Regions from separate parts of the Homo sapiens genome. Here all the other regions are linked to region 1. The links are contacts of gene promoters, found by promoter capture Hi-C in blood cells and fetal thymus (Javierre and others, 2016). All regions are on one chromosome and are shown on one strand. The core of a region is centred on a gene start or on the middle of the fragment in contact, and the rest is flanking DNA. Distances in the headings are between cores, read along the strand shown.

The links. Contacts are between HindIII fragments. The CHiCAGO score rates a contact against its expected background, and 5 or more counts as called.
Region 2: a contact is called between the fragment with the promoter of PRC1-AS1 here and a fragment that was not itself captured in region 1, in 2 of 17 cell types (total B cells and naive B cells). The highest score is 5.5, in total B cells.
Region 3: the fragment with the promoter of MESP1 here is called in contact with a fragment that was not itself captured in region 1 in 1 of 17 cell types (neutrophils); the score reaches 5.0 in neutrophils.

The regions. Positions count from the first base shown.
Region 1 is chr15:90,302,778-90,307,373 of GRCh38, forward strand. No RefSeq gene overlaps it. Among named protein-coding and RNA genes, the nearest start is that of NGRN, 39 kb to the left of the region's middle. RefSeq lists enhancers at 800-849, 3,768-3,817. The HindIII fragment of the contact is 1,013 bases long and covers 1,302-2,314 here.
Region 2 is chr15:90,964,246-90,968,841 of GRCh38, forward strand. It overlaps PRC1-AS1 (PRC1 antisense RNA 1), which reads left to right and starts at 2,124. Exons shown (of 4, transcript NR_051984.1): 1 at 2,124-2,433. It overlaps PRC1 (protein regulator of cytokinesis 1), which reads right to left. Exons shown (of 15, transcript NM_003981.4): 15 at 1,795-2,957. The coding sequence ends at 2,886. The HindIII fragment of the contact is 668 bases long and covers 1,912-2,579 here.
Region 3 is chr15:89,749,171-89,753,766 of GRCh38, forward strand. It overlaps MESP1 (mesoderm posterior bHLH transcription factor 1), which reads right to left and starts at 2,079. Exons shown (of 2, transcript NM_018670.4): 1 at 1,339-2,079; 2 at 705-1,057. The coding sequence starts at 2,061. The coding sequence ends at 974. It also overlaps the pseudogene MRPL15P1. RefSeq lists silencers at 1,350-1,639, 1,700-2,129. The HindIII fragment of the contact is 7,264 bases long and covers 1-2,638 here.

The sequences.
Region 1 (4,596 bases), core at 558-3,057:
TGATAGCCTTGAATTGATTCCCTTCCAACCCTTTTCTCAATACACTACTACTACTAATTTTAAAATCAGGTTATTTCGTTTTGGAATCTCCTTTTCACTTAATATATCACAAACCTTTTCCCAGTTTATCAAATAATATTCCAAGCTATGATTTTAAAGCTGCCTCACCTCAGCTCACATCATATCACATCACATCACATCAGTTTACATTATTAAACCATTCTACTTGGGACATAAGAGATGATCAATTTTTCAACATTATAAATAATGTTGCATGTAATATTCTTTGGTCACATACCTGATTATCTTTGGAAAGCTTCCCTAGGATTCAGATTGTTAGATCAAAAGCCTTAAATATTTTTCAGGTTCTAGATACACAATGCTCGATTGCTTTCCTTTTTTTTTTTTTTTTTTTTTTTTGGGGAGACAGAGTCTTGCTCTGTCGCCCAGGCTGGTGTGTAGTGGTGTGATTTCGGCTCACTGCAAGCTCCGCCTCCCCGGTTCATGCCATTCTCCTGCCTCAGCCTCCCGAGTAGCTGGGACTACAGGTGCCCGCCACCACGCCCGGCTAATTTTTTGTATTTTTAGTAGAGACGGGGTTTCACTGTGTTAGCCAGGATGGTCTCGATCTCCTGACCTCGTGATCCACCCGCCTCGGCCTCCCAAAGTGCTGGGATTACAGGCGTGAGCCACCATGCCCGGCCCAATTGCTTTCTTGAAAGAGTGTAATAGTTTTACTTCCACCAGCTACAAGAGTGTGTTTCAGTCATACAGCAAGGCCTGCCTCTCGAAACAACACCTATGGGTTAAAAAAAAAAAAAAGTCATTGTCAACTGAGTCAAAATGGTTTTTCTTTTAATTTGCATTTCTTACTTGACAACATAAGTCAAACTTTAAAAAAAAATTTGTTTCTTCATAAATTACCTTTGCATGCTTTTTGTCATTTTCCTATGGAACTGTTAATGTTTCTTCTTAGCATTCTAGTCTTAATATTTTTTAGCAAAGGATTTTTCTGACTGCATTGTGAGATCTGGCCTCCTGGCTGGGGCGGCAGGAGGTGGGATGGAGAAAGGGCGGGGTGTCAGAGCCAGGCCTGTTCTCTTAGTCCTTCCACAATCGCCAAGGTGTGACCTGGGCCAACTCTTGGTATCTCTGGGCTTCAGTTCCCTTCCCTGTAAATAGAAAGGTCTTAATTAAGGTCCCTTCCAGTGCTGTAAAAGGGAGTTTCAAAGCTTCTCTCACTGTTATGATTGTGATCAGCTTCGAAGGAGGTAGTGCTAGTGGGTAAACATCAAACTGTAAGCTTGCTTCCCCAGTTCCAACCTACCAGTACCACCTACACTGAGAAAATCACTTTGATGCTCTTAGTTTCCTGATCTGTAAATGGAAAATGTGTTTTACAGATTTGTTGTAAAAGTTATGTGAAATAATAAAAATCAAAGTGTATAGATTATAATATACTACAGACGGGCCGGGCATGGTGGCTCTCGGCTGTAATCCCAGCACTTTGAGGGGCTGAGGCAGACAGATCACTTGAGGTCAGGAGTTCGAGACCAGCCTGGCCAACACGGCAAAACCCCGCCTCTACTAAAAATACAAAAATTAGCCAGGCATGGTGGTTTGCCCCTGTAATCCCAGCTACTCCAGAGGCTGAGGTGGGAGAATCACTTGAACCCCGGAGACAGAGGTTGCAATGAGCCGAGATCATACCAAGGCACCCCATCCTGGGCAACAGAGCCAAACTCATCCCAAAACAAAACAAAACAAACAAACAAACAAACAAATGTATATATATACACACGCACCACAGACATACACACACACTGTGAAGTTGCATTTTTAAAGAATTTAATTTTCATAAATCTTAGTGCACAAACAAGTAAAGAAAACATTTTTTACCCTGTTGCATGTATCCTCCCTTTCAAACTAGACTCTAGCCTCCAGGGGTCCAAAGAGAATGAGATGACAGAGAGAATGTAAATAGAAACAAAAGAAGCTAAATCTTAGTGTTTGGGCTTCTAAGTATGGAGCCTCAAGTGATAATACGCAATTTTCTGAAGCACTTCTGTACATGATTTTCTCCTTGTGTGTGCTGACTTGACAGCTTAATTCACACACATAATACACACACACATACCTCACACACATAAATCTACCATATATATATATATACACAACTTACATAAGTGCTTCACACCCACTATATATCTAATTCCTTTTATAGGCATATGGCAATGAAAGCAGAAAATGTGATTCAAAAAATAGAAACCACTCTCATTTTCTTTAACTCTTTCCTTTAATTTTGGTCATTTAAAGCTTATAAATTTGACAGACTGTATTTTTAAAACAGACTATTTTTAAAACCTTTAATACTAGTCTCATACATGGTCTATTTCTATTGGTTTATAGTTTGTCAGCAAATTGTATTTTCTACCCATAGGTAAATGTAGCACTGTTCTGAGCACCAAGAAGACATAGGCAGGGAATAGACACTACCTTAGGATCAAGAGGAGACAAGACATGTAAACATGTCATTAGCTAAGTGTGTACATAAATCCAGTTCTGTCATTAAAGAGTAAATATGAGAGCAGGGAGATTTTCTGGTGGGTGGGCGATGATTGCTTTTTTCTTCCCCACGCTCTCCTGGCATTTTTCTCCCCTTCCTTGGGACTGGATTATAGAATGCAGGGGCAGGCCAGGAGCGATGGCTCACGCCTATAATCCCAGCACTTTGGGAGGCCAAGGCTGGTGGATCATGAGGTCGTGAGTTTGAGACCAGCCTGGCCAACGTCGCAAAGCCCCGTCTCTACTAAAAATACAAAAAAAATTAGCTGGGCCTGGTGTCGGGTGCCTATAATCCCAACTACTCGGTAGGCTGAGGCAGGAGAATCTCTTGAACCCAGGAGGCGGAGGCTGCAGTGAGCCGAGATCGTGCCACTGCACTTCAGCCTGGGCGACAGAGCAAGACTCCATCTCAAAAAAAATAATAAAGAATGCAGGGGCAGTTCAGCTTATACATCATGGGCATAAACAATGGCCACTAATTGAAATGGTAGTTTGAAGCTAGCCAGAAATAGCTCTTCACAAAAGAGATCAAGTCTTACTCTGTAAAAAGAGAGTAAAAGCTGAGAAAATATTTCTGAACTAAGTTCACCTTACACAAAGAACATATCCAGAGTTCTAGAATATATGGATATGCTAGGGGAAGAAATACAGATGCAGGCAATCCCCTCTCCTCAATCAGAGGGACAAAGGGTGGAATATGATCTCTGTTCTAAGGCCGTTTGCACTTTCTGTTCATCCTTACCCACTTGTGATGTGTTGTTGTGGTGGTTGTTTCTCAGCAAATGCTCTTAAGTCTGTTACGTAACCTTTCTAAGCACTTTACACATATGAACTGATTTGACTCACATAATAATCTTCTGGGATAAGAACTATTAGTATCATTCCCACTTGACAGATGCAGAAACCGAGGACCTGAGAGATTCCATAAGTCTCCCTGGCAAATTGGATTCAGCCCCAGGAAGTCTGGCTTCTTGGCCTACATTCTTGACTATAAAAGTTGCACTGTCTCTTTAGCTGAAGGGTGAACTTAGGCATTTGAACAGCCAAGGGGTTGTGGGTAGAGTGAAAAAAGAAAGGAAAGGCTTTGAAAGTTATCCTGTTGTTTGAAAACACGAAAAGAGAAGAGAAAAAGAAGGAGAGAGCCTGGAATAGCTGTGAGAAGGCAATAGAAGAAGTGGAAGAACAGGAAATGGAAGAAAAAAAGCAAAGAGAAATTGACCTTGTCCCTGCTAGGGTCCAAATCTAACGGCTTGCTCGGGCTGGAGGGGCTAGAAGTGGGTGTCTCTGCTTTCAAGCAGCGCATTTAACTTCACCGGCTTTCCCCAGGCTGTCTCTGCAGCAACCCACACGAGGGCCTCTTTTCACAGCAATTATGAAAGTGATGGTGGGAGGAAGTACAGCTCACTTATTGAGGTTAAAAAGCCACCCAAGTAAAAGCATTAACCCAGTAGTAAGATTAAATTCCTGGCCCCAAAGGGAAATTATCAGGAGGTGTCCTTTACCATGTGTGAAATGGAAACAGTTTCCTCTCTTGGGCAAAATAACCAATTGCTGTGGGAGGCGGAAATCAATGCAGTGTTTGGTGAAAACTTGGGTTTCTCTGATGAGTTCTGTGAAACGCTAACGTCTAACAGGGGTTGTTCAGTCTATCCAATAACATTTTCTTCCCGTGACCTTGGATCTTAACGTTGGCTCCGCTCATAAATGACTGTGGAATGGGAATGAGAGAGTAAGCTCTTGACAGCTACAGGGAAATGCACTTCTAAAGAACTTGGTATAAGAGGGAAAATGAGATGGTCCTCCAAGAGCTAAACAACAAGATCAATACATATTGTATGGAGCAGAGATGTGCAAAGTCATCATGTTGAACATTCTGACTTGTTGAACATGTTGAACAATCTGATTGAGGATAATAACACAGCTAAAGGAATAATAGTCAATTTAAGGTAGAGTTTGATTCCATGAAAGAAGAAAAAGGAGAGAGAAGTAAATGCATGTATTCTGTATATATATTGAGAGTCTGCTAAGCAC
Region 2 (4,596 bases), core at 874-3,373, 660 kb after region 1:
ATACATTACTGGTAGGAATGTAAAATGGTACAACTGCTTTGGAAAACAGTTTGGCATTTCTTCTTTTTTAAGATGGAGTCTTGCTCTGTTGCCCAGGCTAGAGTGCAGTGGTGCAATCTCAGCTCACTGCCACTTCCGCCTCCTGAGTTCAAGGAATTCTCCTTCCTCAGCCTCCTGAATAGCTGAGATTACAGGTGTGTGCCACCACAGCCAGCTAATTTTTGTATTTTTAGTAGAGATGGGGTTTCACCATGTTGGCCAGGCTGGTCTCGAACTCCTGACCTCGTGATCTGCCCACCTTAGCCTCCCAAAGTGCTGGGATTACAGGCGTGAGCCACCATGCCCGGCCCAGTTTGGCATTTCTTAAAAAGTTAAGTGTACACATACCATAGATGTGATCCAGCCATTTCACTCCTAGGTATTTATCCAGAAAAAAAAATATATCCATACAAAGACTTGTACATGAATGTTTATAACAGCCTTGTTTTTAATAGCCAAAAACTGGAGAAAAGCCAAATGTGAAAAATAAACCTAACAGGCGAATAAACTGGTATATCAACACCATGGAATACTAAGCAAAAAAAAAAAAAAAAAAAAAAAAAAAAAAAAAAAAGAATTATGGATATAAGCAACAATATGGGTAAATCTGAAAGTAGTGAAAGAACCAGACCAAAAAAATATATACTGTATGATTCTACTTACATCGAACTGTAGAAAACGCAAACTAATCTGTAGTAACAAATCGGTGGGCCAGGTACAGTGGCTCATGCCTGTAGTCCTAGCACTTTGGGAGGCCGAGGTGGGCGGATCATGAGGTCAGGAGATCGAGACCATCCTAGCTAATACAGTGAAACCCTGTCTGTCTGTACCAAAAATACAAAAATTTACCAGGCGTGATGGCACGTGCCTGCAGTCCCAGCTACGCGGGAGGCTGAGGCAGGAGAATCCCTTGAACCTGGGAGGCAGAGATTGCAGTGAGCTGAGATTGTGCCACTGCACTCCAGCCTGGCAAGAGCGAGACTCCATCTCAAAAAAAAAAAAAAAAAAAAAAAAAAAAATCAGTGGTTGCTCGGCAGGGTGAGGCTGGGAAGGAGGAGTGAGAAAGGGGTGGGAAGAACTGCTGGGGTAGAGAGACTTGGTTAACTGGACTGTGGCGATGGTTTTTCTCTTACGCTTCACATGTGTGCAGTTTATGTCCATCCTCCTTCAGTAACGCTGTTGAAGTTGGGCAGCCTCCCCATATTGAGACAAACGGCATTGAAGCCAGAAGCATCCTAGGACTCCCTTTGCTCTCTACACATCAGGGGTTAGGTTTTATATTTCTCACCAAAAAATTAGAGTAAGAGATATTCTTAATTTAGAAATGTACCAGAGAATATTTTAAAAATCACACTCGGCCGGGTGCTGTGGCTCATGCCTGTCATCCCAGCACTTTGGGAGGCAGGCAGATCATCTGAGGTCAGGAGTTCAAGACCAGCCTGGCCAACATGGTGAAAGCCTGTCTCTACTAAAAATACAAAAATTAGCCAGGTGTGATGGTGCGTGCCTGTAATCCCAGCAAATCGGGAGGCTGAGGCAGGAGAATCGCTTGAACCTGGGAGGTGGAAGTTGCACTGAACCAAGATAGTGCCACTGTACTCCAGCCTGGGCGACAGAGTGAGACTCAAAAAAAAAAATCACACTCCTGACTAAAAATTTCCAGGAGGTCCTTTTAGTTTTTTGTGTTTGTTTTTCACACACAGACCAACCAACTAAAAAGTGACTGGGGAAAAAAAGGAAACACCACACTATATCTTTTTGAAATGTAAGTATACAGATTTTAATTTATTTTTAAGAATAATTGTATATTTTAAAAACAGGACACGTACTGTATGAGTAAACAGCGTGGCTAACACCAAGTCCACACTGGTAAGCTTTTGAGAACCATTTACACTATGTTGACAGTAGTACTGCTGCAGGCAGACAGCGGAAGAATAAATAATAGTGCTTCAAGAAGAGTAGTGATTGAGAGGATAGGTAAAGAGGGCGCCTCATCGTGGAAGCTAGAGCAGGAACACCTCCCCAGTAGTGACATGTGCAAAGTTCCAGATCTCCACGACAAAGACAGCTCAACCCATTGGAACAAACAGACTCCCAATGTGGCTGGCAACTGCGGGGGTAGAAGAACTCAGGCAAAGTAGGCACAGGAATGGGGGAGATGAGAGCCAAGGGACAAACGCCGAGAAAGCGTTCCGACAAGCATGTGTGTTCATACATGCATACCCCCAACAAAGGGCAATGCACTGTGTAACAGAACTGAACACAATTTAACAAAGCTGCTCCCAGCCTTCCTGTCACCTCTTTGGCAGTAGGGCAGGCCATCTCAACTTCGGACACACAAAGACATTCTCTTCAGGAGGAAGGCTGTCCTGTGTGGTGGGGACAAGGCTTCAGGTAAGAGCAAAGCTATGATAGCTACAGCATTAATTGAACATGCCTAAACAAAAAAGATGTTAATTACTAGTTACAGGTATACATGCCAAAATTACCCCCAGGGATGGGCATAGTCAATCATTTTCCTACAGTGGTGAAATAAAACAAGCTTTGATCATGCTTCAGCAAGTAGAATTATGTGGTAGAGAAGTCAGGCCCCATATGCTAAAATTTGCACTTCTTGCCATAAACTTTTCATGTATATAAGTCAAAACCAAGTCTCCTAGGACCACTAAACCTATGATGGGCTTTCAACTGTAACACTCATTCACATCTTTAAGTTAGGCCCATGGTCATGGAACCTGGCCAAGGTTTCAAGCACGCCTAAGCTGAAGAAAAACTAAAGTCACCCCCATATAATTAGGTCCAGTCTAGGCACAGGAAGCCACAGCTGGTTGACTGATCAGGGCTTCTCAGGACTGGATGTTGGTTGAATTGAGGATTCCAGAAGTAGCATCAGATTTGGAAGCCTTTGAAAGTTCTCGCTGTTGAAAAATAAATAACATCAGTGGCCATACTGCCTCTCTTACACATGGCCCACCCTTCTAAGTTTGGTTAAGTGTCAGCAAAAGGTCCCTTGAAGGTAGTTTCTCTGAGATCCCTAGCCTGCAATAGGCTGCGTTAGGAGTAAAAGGTGAGGAACTCTGAGCACCATTCTATTAGTCACAGACAGAGTGCATGTGCACGCATGCCCGTGACCCCTTTTTCCTCAGCCAGTCCATTCTGTTACACCTCACAGAAGAGAAATCCTTCATACAGTCATGCACTGCATAATGATGTTTCAGTTAACGACAGGCCACATACACTATGGTGGTCCCATAAGATTATACCATATTTTTACTGTACCTTTTCTATGTTTAGATACACAAATACTTACCATTGCGTTACAATTGCCTACAGTATCCCAGGAATAGCCTGAATCAAAAAAACCCACAATTGCCTACAGTATTCTTTCTGTAACATGCTGCCCAGGTTTGTAGCCTAGGAGGAAAACGCCATACCATATAGTTTAGGTGTGTAGGCTGTTCTGTCTAGGACTGTTAAGTACACTCTGATATGTGCACAATGAAATTGCCCCACATTCTCAGAACATATCCCTGTCATTAAGCGAGGCATGACTCTACTTCACAGAGCTACTTTAGAGTTGTCAAGGTAAGTAGGCAACAAGCTTTGGTCTCTTGAGCCCTTTATAAAACAATGGGCCAGAACATATATCTACCAATCCCTGGGGCTGAGGCCTTGTAACCTGCTGGTGATTTGATCTCATGCTGGAGCACATGGTAGAGCAGCAAAAGATAAAGCATGAATGGCTATTGAGAAAGACAGATATTAGCAGAGGTTAGTTTACCGGCTTTGGTGCTGCCTGGTGGAGTCTATCAGCCATAGCAACCCAAACCAGACGAACCTACCTAGGACTAGCCACACAGATAGGCAGGTACATTTAAGCCTCAGATAAAATGGGCCTTGGTTGAACAAGCGAAAAAGAGAAAGCTGGACCTCTGTCCAGCAATCAGCCAGAGTGACACACACCCACTTTTAAAGGTAGAAGCACCACCAGCCACGTAATTTGAAAAACATGCTGGAGTAGGAAGCCAGTTTCAGTGATCAAAACTAGCTGCAGCCTTGGCCAACTGTTCCATTCTCTATCCCTGCAGCAATTAAGAGGGGAGGCAGGCTAGGGGTTTAACTCAATATCCCCTCAAGGGTGAGGAACATCCTCTCCTCTTGCTAGTAAAATATTGAGAGAAGAAATCACAGATTAAGTAAAAGGCAGTGTAGTTAGGTGTTAGCAAATATAGAGTAGGATACTAGGAAGTGAAGAGCATTCTGGAAAAACTTGCTTCCAGTGCTTCATCTATGCTTCAGTAGCTCAATGTATGGAAAGAGGCAAAGGTGAGGAAATCAGCATTAGCTAGCTGAGAATAGAGCTGGCGGTTAAGCCCTGAGGGGTTAGGAAGGCATATACTCCAGGAAATAATCAGCACACAGGCCAAGAGCCTCATTGTAGGCAGCACACAGCTGGGGCTCCCTTCCCCATGTGATTGGGGGCCTCTATTCTTTCCAGCTATTGCAGGCCTTTGATGTCACAATTGGGGAGGGTCAAGGTTTTCTGTTAAACGTGAT
Region 3 (4,596 bases), core at 829-3,328, 550 kb before region 1:
TGGATTCCGATGCAACCCCATGGGCCCCTCATCTCACCCCATCTAGGCCTGTAGGAGGTCATGGTTATATAAACTCAGGACCGCCACACCATTATTTATGTCTCTAAGCCACAAGGTGGGGAAACCAGAGAAAAGGCAGATGGGAAAATGCCGGCGGAGGGTGGGGGAGTTCCAAGGCCAGGATGCTCCCGTGCATGGAGAATAAGACCACAGGATGCAAGAAAATAACCCCTTGGAGCTGTTATCCCTCAGGCCCCAACATGTATGGAGCTGGCAAAATCCCACAAGAGCTGAGCGCTGGGACTCTGGAGGCCTACCTGGGCTTGAGCGCTGATCCTCATCCTTCTGTAAAATGGTTACTTGAGTATAATAGGTACCTGATGTACATACAATAAATACTCAATAATGGAGTTGTATTTCTACACAGATATTTTGGTTTTAACCAGTTCCCCACCAGGTTCAAAGAAAAGATGAGCAGATTCTACTTGCCGCTGCCTTCTCACAGGACGTCCCTCCCCACCCATTCCAGGCTGACCCATCTGGACTAGATGCTGAGCCAGGGCTGGGGGTAAGGCCAAAGGGGTCTGGGCCTGTGGGGGTCGGGGGGCTAAAGATTGCAAGAACCCCTCCCACCTCTCCCATGCTCTTCTTTGGAGGGAGAGAGGGAGCTCTGTGTCCACGGGTAGGAAGAAGAAATTGCCAACTGACACCAGTACAGTTTATTCACAAATAAATAAATTCACATTAGGCAGAGCCTCCTGCTTGCCTCAAAGTGTCTAGCCCTATGGGTCCCTCCATGGAGGGAGGGGCTGAGAAGGGCCGCCGCGGTGGGGACGGCTCTCACCCGCAGGAATGCCCCCGTCGGGATCGCCCGTGCCCTCTTCCAGGAAAGGCAGTCTGCCAAGGAACCACTTCGAAGGTGCTGAGGCCAAAAAGCCTCGGTGCTCACAGAGACGGCGTCAGTTGTCCCTTGTCACTTGGGCTCCTCAGGCAGCCACTCCAGAGGCGAGAGGGGCATCCAGGTCTCCAACAGAGCCAGCACGTCGCCCGGAAGGAGCTGTAGGGAGAGACGGAACAGCGCAGCCCTCAAGCACTGGTGGCCTTGTGCGGGTGTCCGCGCTCGTGGGCTCCACTCTCAGGGGGCCCCTAGCGAGGGGAGACCCAGTCCTCTGCGTGGCCTTTCCCTGCCTTCGCTTCTTGGAGCCCTGGGCATACTATGGTGGCCAGGTGGCCAGGCTGCCGGCGGGGAGCAGCAGGGTGCCTGGTCCTCACCTTGGCGGGCGGTGGGGCTGTGCGCGGGGGCACGGACGAAGGGGGCGCGGGGAAGGGGACACTAACCGGGGACGGTGGGCTTGGCTCCATCGCCTGCCCTTCAGGGCACGCCGCCTCGGCGAACAGCGCAGGCGGGTCGCGCGGCTCGGGTGCAGCTCGGGCTCCGGGGCAGGCAGGCGGGGATCCCCAGGACGCCCCGGCGCGGACGGCGGATACCAGGCCCAGCCCGCGCCCCTGCCCCTGCCCCTCAGCCTGCGTCCGTGTCTGCATCTGCGCGGGGCAGTCGTCGGGGCACAGCGGGCAGCCCCGAGGGGACCCCGCGTCACCGCGCTGCCGGCACCGGCGCTGGAGACTCTCCTCGCTGAGGCCTAGCACGGCCGACAGGTGGCCGATATAGCGGATAGCCAGGCGCAGCGTCTCGATCTTGGTCAGGCTCTGGCCCGCGGGCGCCACGGACGGCGGTAGAAAGCGGCGCAGCTCGTGCAGGGCGCGGGCCAGCGTGCGCATGCGCAGTTTCTCCCGCTCACTGGCGCTCTGCCTCTGCCCGCTGCCCAGGCGGCTGCTGCGCGCGCCGCGCCTACCTACGGAGGGGGCGCGGGGGTCCCGGAGGGTGCCTGGCCGCGCGGGGCTCGCCACGGGGCTGTCGGCTGGGGTGCTGCCCCATGAGTCTGGGGACGAGACGAGGGAGCGGCCGCAGTCCTTGTCGGAGGGCGGCGGCCGCCGAGTTGGGCCCCAGGCCGCAGAGAGCATCCAGGACTCGGAGAGCGGCGGGCACAGGGGCTGGGCCATGGCAGCGGCGGCGCGTCTGGGGGCCGGCGGCCGGCGGCCGCTTTATGCCGAGCCCGAGGTGTGAAGTGGCCCCTTCCAGGCCGCATCAGCACATCAAAGTGGGCTCGGGGCTTGGAGGGGGCGGAGCCTGACCCTTTGAATCCACGGCGGGGGGCCAAGGTGCCAGCCCCTTGACTGCGCCTGTTTCGCCCCACCTGGGCCCTCGCTTGGGCGCCCGACCCAGCCTCTCGGCCTTCCCGCCTGCGCCCAGTGTTGGGTGAAGCCCGGGGCGTTGGGCCAGCCCTGCAGGTTAAAGGAAGCGGGGTCAGAAAAACGAAATCTAGATCCTAGGTTTGGGGCCTGCCTTCACCTGTTGGGGACCTTATGCAAATTCTTAGTTCTTTTGCACCTTAGCTTCCAATTTGTATAATGAGAGCCTCAGGGCATGCGCCAATTGGACAGTGGAGTAGAGTAAGGACCAGGAGCAGGGACCCTCATTCCCTCTAAAGGTGGAGAAAACAGTAAACCACTTCTCCTTTGAGGCAGGATGGCCCTGGGTAGACCCTTCCCTGGTAAGAACATGTGGACAGTGCAAGGAAGCTTGCACCCCGGCAAATTCAATAAGCTGCCGAGTCTGGTCAGGATGCTGGACCTTCTGAGCAGAGGGAGGGGGTTAAGCCTGCTCCAACCCCAGGCCACCTCTAGCCTGGCAAGGTCTGGAGCTTGGCCTGTTGCCACAGCTGTCACCACTGGCCTTTACCTGATGTTCTGCCGCTATTGGACAGGTATAACAGGTTTTCCCAATGAAATGTGAGTGGAAATGACGCAGCAAAGGCATTTGACAAAATCCAACACCCTTCGTGATGAAAATTCTCAGCAAACTAAGAATAGAGAGGAATTTCATCAACCTGATGAAAGGCTCCTACAAAGAACCTACAGGTAGCCTCATACTGAGTAGTGAAAGACTGAAATCTTCCCCCCACCCCCCGATTGCAGGAACAAAGCGAGGGTGTCTCTCTTACCACTCCTATTCAACATTGTACCAGATGGAGGATCTAGGCTATGCAATTAGGAAACAAAAGACATACAGGTCAGAAAGGAAGAAATAAAACTCTTTTCGCAGGTTATGGCAGCTCTGGGCCCTGCTGCGCATGAGCCTGACCAATTTAAAGCGGAATCCTGGCTCCAGGAAACCCATGAGACGACCAAAAGGTCGGAGAAGAGGTAGAAAATGCGGCAGAGGCCATAAAAGAGAAAGGCAGAGAGGAAACTGGCTCTGCTGGGCTTTGGGGATGGCCAGACTCTATTTTACATCGGAATCCCAAAATACAGATTTAATGAAGGACTTAGCTTCAGACACCAGTATCAACCTTTAAGTATCAATAGACTGTAATATGTTACTGATTTGGGTCGTGTTGATCCTACTCAACCTATTGACTTAACCCAGCTTGTCAATGGAAGAGGTGTGACCATTCAGCCACTTAAAGAGGATTATGGTGTTCAGCTGGTCGAAAAGGCCGCAGACACCTTTCAGGTGAAAGTTAATATTGGGCCGGGCGCGGTGGCTCACACCTGTAATCCCAGCACTTTGGCAGGCCAAGGGGGGTGGATCATGAGGTCAGGAGATTGAGACCACCCTGGCCACCGTGGTGAAACCCCGTCTTATTAAAAATGCAAAAATTAGCCAGGCATGGTGGCACGTGCCTGTAGTCCCAGCTACTTGGGAGGCTGAGGTAGGAGAATCACTTGAACCCGGGAGGTGGAGGTTGCAGTGAGCTGAGATCATGCCACTGCACTCCAGTCTGATGACAGAGTGAGACCCCCTGTCCAAAAAAAAAAAAAAAAAAAAAAAAGTTAATATTGAAGTACAGTTGGCTTCAGAACTAGCTATTGCTGCAATTGAAAAAAATGGTGGTGGTGTCACTACAGCCTTACAGGATCCAAGAAGTCTGGAAATTCTATCCAAACCTGTTCCATTCTTTTTGGAGACAACCCATTCCAAAAAGAATGCTTCCTTCTGAAGCACTGGTACCATATTCCACCAATGCAAAGAATCGTGGGAACCTGGCAGATCCTGCCAAATTTCCTGAAGCACAACTTGAGCTTGCCAGGAAGGACAGTTCTAATTTACTGGATATCACGAAAGAAGAACTCTTCAAATGTTCAGTACTCAGAAGGATCCAAGGCAGATTTTCTTTGAGTTTGCTCCAGGATGGGTGCTGAATATAGTAGATAAGAAAATCCTAACATCTACAGATGAAAATCTCCTCAAGTACTAGAGCTCATGAATTCCCATCCAAGAAAGCAGAGTTGTTAAAGAATATTAGAAAAGGGCCAGGCACAATGGCTAACACCTGTAATCTCAGCACTTTGGGAGGCCGAAGAGGGTGGATCGTGAGATCAGGAGTTTGAGACCAGCCTGGCCAACATGGCGAAACCCCGTCTCTACTAAAAATACAAAAATTAGCCAGGCATGGTGGCAGACGCCGGCAATCCCAGCTACTCGGGAGGCTGAGGCAGGATAATCGCTTGAACCCGGGAGGCGGAAGTTATGGT